2 separate regions of the Homo sapiens genome follow, and region 2 is linked to region 1. The links are contacts of gene promoters, found by promoter capture Hi-C in human tissues and cell types (Jung and others, 2019). All regions are on one chromosome and are shown on one strand. The core of a region is centred on a gene start or on the middle of the fragment in contact, and the rest is flanking DNA. Distances in the headings are between cores, read along the strand shown.

Region 1 (2,825 bases), core at 326-2,825:
TAGACAAACTGCTGCCAATAGTATCTTTATATCATAGTTTAATCTGGCATATATACCAGTGCTTTCTCTCTAGAATGTTTTCTAATCTAAGGGGAAATATATTCTAGAAGTTTCTTTAAAGTACCTTTGTCAATGTTTACATTCAAAGAATGATCAGTTGGGGAAGTGATGCAGAACTGTGTCATAGAAGGAAGTGTTAGAGGACTTGGAAGGAAGTAATTGAGGGAAGGCAGGGAGGCACAATCACTGGGAAAGATGAGACTTCCTCTGTTTTCTCCCAAGAGTGGGAACAGAACAGAGGAAGCCATGGAGACAGAGATTTTAGCTCAATTAATAAAGAACTTCCTGTTAAGAGGTTGTATGGTATGTGGCTAAGGATATGGCTCTAGAGCCAAATTTCTGGTTTCAAACCCAAGCTTCACCCACAGTTTGACCTTGACTAAATTATCTAACCTTTCTGTTGCTTGTTTTCCTCATCTGTAAAATGGATACAGTAATATCCACCCGATGGTTGTTGCAAGGATTAAATGAGTTAATACATATAAAATGCCTAAGAATACATTTTAGAACAGTGCATGGTATTTAGTAAGCTCAAGAAATGTTAGCTATTATTAAGTAGTTATAGCTGCCCAAAGATGCAGTGGGCTGCCCTGGGGTGGTGAGGACAGGGTGGGGTAGGCATCCAGGGGCAAGTTCCCCTACACTAGAGATGCTCACACTTAGGCAGCCTCCTAGGAAGGCTCAAGTGCTGGGTGGATGGGTGGACAAGATGCCCTTTCAGAGTTCTTCCATCCTGAGAGTCAGTGATGACGCGGTAGTCACCTCAGGGTCAAAGCAATGCCCTGCCAAGAAATGTATTTGTTGTTTGCAGTTTGTTTTGCTATTCACCCTATCGACTTCAGATTTTGAGCTCCTGCTCCAAAGACTGTCATTCTTATGCTGTGACCTTCCTTTGGTAGGAGCCTGTCACTCTGCTGGGCCAGATTGGCTGTGATAGCAACGGGAAGCTGAACAACAAGTCAGTGATTCTCGAGGGAGACCGGGAACATTCCTCGGGTGCTCAAATTCCAGTGGATTTATCTGAGCTTAAGGAATATTCTCTGTTTCCTGGACAGGTGAGATTGGAGGAGTTCCACCAGAATGCAGGCGCACTCTTTACCCCTGTAGTGTAGGTGCTGTGCCATGCGCAGCTGCTCCTCAGTTCCTGTCTCTGCTGCCATGGGGTGCAGCTGGAGCACATGCCCCAGAGCAGACACCACTGTTGGGATTCCTGTTTCCCCCATGCTCTGACCCAGGCTCTGGGACCTGACTGCGCAGCCTCAAATCCCAACTCCCCGCTCCATGAGGTGCATGACTGTGCACAAGGTACTTAACCATCTAAACTACAGTTTCTTCACTCACAAAATGGAAATAATAATTCTTACCTCATAGGATTGTTGTGAAAATTAGATCACTTATATAGAGCATAATTATTATTACTAATGCAACGCCCTTAATTCGTTTTCTACAAAAATGCCCTAAGTTTATGATTACAGAATGAGAGTAGTTGGACAATGCTTTTAACTGCCTCAAAATAATGTATTCCAGACCTCATTGATCTCCACTGCTTAGCAATCCTGTTTGTTTTTGTCTTTCAGGTTGTAATTATGGAAGGAATCAACACCACTGGTAGGAAACTTGTTGCCACCAAACTCTACGAGGTACACAGCAGTACCCCCACTTGCCTCTTGGTTTGCTTCAGACAAAGTATGTCTGGAAGCTGTCTGTTCTAGAAACTGGTCCTTTTTAGGAGCCCATTTATTTGTTAGTCAGTTCTCCATCTGTAAGTGGGAACCCACCCCTAGGCCAGGGGTCAGCAAACCCTTTCTATAAAGGGCCAGACAGTAACTCTTTTAGACTTTGTAGCTATATGGTCTCTGTCACAATGACTCAATTCTGCCTTTGTCTACAAAAGCAGCCATAGAGGACTCTTAAACAGATGACTGTGGCTGTGTTCCCATAAAACTTTATTTAAATAGTGGGCTGCAGCCAAATTTGGCCCAGAGGCCGAAAGGTTACCTATCCCTGCTCTAGGCAACAATCCTCCAGAGATTTTCGTAGAATGCCAGGAAAAGTAGCAAGAAACCATTCTCTCCCATCCTTGCCTAGAAGTACACTGATACTTTAGGCACCTGTTTTGCTCCCACTTGTTGCTGGGTATTTTATGACAATTGAGTAGTGACCTCCCATTACCTGGGTTTCTTTGCCCTCTGAGCAGTATAGAAAAATGGCAGGTCCCATCAGATCCAGGGAGCAAGACAGAGGCACATCCTTCCCCTGCCCTCTCGCTCCTCCCCACTGTCCTCCCATCACACACCTGCACCACCCCCAACCTGGTGCCCTCCCCTTTCCTTACCAAGGTGATGCCTGGCGCAAGACCTTACTTGAGCTTTTCCCCTGTTTTTAGGGTGTGCCACTTCCATTTTATCAGCCCACTGAAGAGGATGCAGGTGAGTTTCGGTTCAAATATTGTTTTGCCAACAATGAGGATGGTAGACATGAGTCCAGGAGTGCAGTTTCCCAAGCCCAAGAAAGCTGCAGAAGCTGCTGAAGAGCAATGTGACCAAGCAGTGAGGGCGCCACCATCATGAGTTCGTAGGTTTTTTGTCACAAGACCCCTGGTCTGAGCCCAGTGAGCGTTGGTCGTGCTGTCGCCTGAGTTCTGCCTACATGAAGCATGTTGTTTAAAGACTAATGTTTAACAGGTATTTTTGAAGGTTGCCTTGGAAAGGAAAAGATGTACGATTTCAAAAAGAATTTATTTACATGCAGCATGGGCAGATGCG
Region 2 (2,922 bases), core at 15-2,514, 220 kb before region 1:
TTCCCCTTCCCCTCACTTCCTCCAGTCCACTGCCCAGCCCCTTCCTCACCGAGGCCTCCTGCACTGGGGGACTGCCACTCACCTTGGCCCCACGCCCTACACCCCCATATCGAGTCAGGGCAATGGTGCCTTCAAGTTTGATGCCCTGAGTCTGTAGCTCCTTAAAGTCTTCTTCCGCGCCCCGGTTGGCATAGACGAGGAGGCCCTAGTCCCAAGAGGGGGTGATCCTTAGAGCTGGGCCCAGCGAAGTGTGGGTGGGGAAGGGGGGTGGAAGTTTGCATGGCAGGAGGGAGAATTTAGATTCTGTTCCCCCACCTCACCCAGAGCTTGTAAGCTCCCCAAGAACAGTCACCCCTCATTTCCTCCATGTCTGGGTGCCCTGTAACAGACCTGGCCTTGAGCAGAGCCACTAGTGTTTGTTGAATGACTGATGGAGGAAAGGAGCAGCGATGGAGTGTCCCGGTGAGTAAATTCCGGAGGGCGCGCTGTGCCCCAGTTGAGGCACGTTCCCTGGGTCAGGGTGGGGAGAACCCTGGGTGGAACCAAGGGAGCTGGGCCAGAGCAGTAGGGGGGGTTCTGGGCCCACCTGTGGGGTTCCAGAAGGAGCATAGGCAGCATAGGGTTGTACCACATCTGGCCCCCCTTGCTCCCCGGTCACGTTCTCCTCAGTCCGGTGGCAGGAGTGGATGATGCCCCCAGTGGGGCCCACTGTTGGAGGGGTGGCAGTATCATGGCTGGGCCCAGCAGCTCCCCACCCCCGGGCATTCCCAAGACTGGGCAGGACCTCACCGATGTCCACGACGTTGGGCTGCTCCTGGCTAGGGAAGGACAGCAGCACTTCGTACGTGGAGGCCTCGGCCGAGTCCAGGCCTGACTCTGGGTCCTTCCAGCGCTGCAGCAGCAGCTGCACCAGGTCCTCATCCCGAGGGCTGGAGGCCAGGTGTGGCTCCCTGGAGAGTTCTCTGCAGGGTGGGCAGAGGGAGGGGCAGGGCCAGCATCAGGGAGGGGGCCTCTGGCAAACGGAGGAGCAGATGGCCCCACTTCTCACCTGAGGTTCTCCCGGATCCTGTGGGCATCCAGCTGCCCCATGACGGTCTCCAGGATCTCCAGGTCCAGGTCCTGGGGGGCCAGTGAGTTGGCTTTTTTGGGGATGGCAAAGTGGCCGAGGATGATCCCCAGCCCCAAGAGGGCAGCAGCCCCCAGCCCCAGCCCCAACACCTTCGTCCACTGCATCCTGCGGACTCTTGGCCAGCTGGGGTAGGACTGGTCTATAGGTTATTCCCTATAGAGGGGGTGTTGTGCCTGGTTAAACATTACCCCATGGGTGGCACTGCCCTTTGACCCCCAGCTGGCAGGGAGAGTGAGGGAACATCCCGCAGTGAGAGCCAGGAGCCATCCACATCCACCACATCCTGCACCATTTGCCTGGAATGGCTCTCCAAGGGCAGCAAGGTCACCCAGGGACACTGAAGCCGAGAGGGAAGGGGCTCATCCAGGGTGTCCCAGGAAAACAGAGGCCAAGCCAGGGCTGGAACTCAGAGCTCCTGTGTTCACAGCAGGGCCGTGCCCACTGCCCACCCTCACTGCCTCTGCCTCCCTCCAAGGCAGCCGATCTACAGCATACCCAGCCCTACCTGCCTGAGCAGATTTTGAGTTGAGATCCCCCTTCTTGCTGGACGTAAGCTGTGTGACCTTGGGCAATCCACTCAGCTTCTCTACACCTGTTTTCTTTTTTTTTTTTCTAGACTGTGTCTTCCACTGACACCCAGGCTGGAGTCCAGTGGTGTGATCTCGGCTCACTGCAACCTCCACCTCCCGGGCTCAAGTGATTCTCCTGCATCGGCCTCCCGAGTAGCTGGGATTACGGGTGTGCACCACCATGTCCAGCTAATTTTTGTATTTTTAGTAGAGATGGGGTTTCACCATGTTGGCCAGGCTGGTCTCAAACTCCTGATCTCAGGTGATCACCCGCCTCAGCCTCCCAAAGTGCTGGGATGACAGGAGTGAGCCACCGTGCCGGCTATGGTGTCATTTTCATTAAACAATATGGCATCTGTAGAAATAGCTAGTGCAGTGTCTGACATGTAGTGGGAGCTCATCAATTTTAACTACTCATCCCTCATCTGACTCTGGAAAATGTAAGGCCTAGAGCTAAAGGAAGAAGGAGGACCCAGAAGAACTCTCTGTGTCTATCCTGAAGGGAGCCCAGCGATACGAGGAATGGGAGTCCTGGGAAGGGAGGCTGTCCCAGAGGAGGCAGCAGGGGAAGCCCATGCCTCCCTGGCGAGGTGACTTCCTCTTCTATCCCCTGGCTCTGCCTGGACTCCGTCATCCACCCTCCTATTTATCCATCCACCCATCCCTCCATTCACTTATTCATTCCTTCCTTTATACATGCAAGCACTGTTCATTCTGTGCTATACTAGAGCCATGCAAGGCTGTGGGGAAGCAAAATCCAGCAGGCGAGGCAGACAGGCTTTAGGTTCAGCCATGTGGTAAGTGCCCTGTAGAGGGAGGATCACCATGCTCCCAGTGAAAGAGTGAGGAGTTCTGACTAGGAGGGAACATCTGAGGGGGTCCTCCAAGGCTGAAAAGGTGTTCCAGCATTTGCAAGGGCTGAGAGGGAAGTGAGACCCCAAGTATGCCATACACATACTGAGCCTCTTCCAGACCTCACGGAGAGCCAGGAGGGGCTGGGGGGGTCCCTAGGGACTTGAGCTGGGACTTCTCCCACCCTCCCATGGCCTATCCTGCCTTGACTCTGCCTCGCAGGTTGCAGCCCATGGATGGGCTCAAAGATGCCTGCAGAGCTTGGGGGCTGGATCAGGGCAGAGCGTGTGTGTGTGTGTGTGTGTGTGTGCACGTGCATGTGTGTGTGTGTGATTTCACAGACCCCTCTCAGAGCAGCCTCCTTCCTGCTCA

The links. The method cuts DNA at HindIII sites, captures the fragments that hold promoters and counts their contacts. A contact is called where the count stands out against the background at its distance.
Region 2: the fragment with the promoter of NAALADL1 here is called in contact with a fragment that was not itself captured in region 1 in 6 of the 25 tissues and cell types used here (adrenal gland, dorsolateral prefrontal cortex, hippocampus and 3 more).

The regions. Positions count from the first base shown.
Region 1 is chr11:65,280,033-65,282,857 of GRCh38, forward strand. POLA2 (DNA polymerase alpha 2, accessory subunit) reads left to right here. Exons shown (of 18, transcript NM_002689.4): 8 at 960-1,115; 9 at 1,638-1,700; 10 at 2,447-2,489. Among named protein-coding and RNA genes, the nearest start is that of POLA2, 19 kb to the left of the region's middle. RefSeq lists an enhancer at 1-437. The HindIII fragment of the contact is 6,666 bases long and covers 1-2,825 here.
Region 2 is chr11:65,057,289-65,060,210 of GRCh38, forward strand. NAALADL1 (N-acetylated alpha-linked acidic dipeptidase like 1) reads right to left here and starts at 1,265. Exons shown (of 18, transcript NM_005468.3): 1 at 1,049-1,265; 2 at 790-962; 3 at 587-708; 4 at 83-205. The coding sequence starts at 1,233. The HindIII fragment of the contact is 22,908 bases long and covers 1-2,922 here.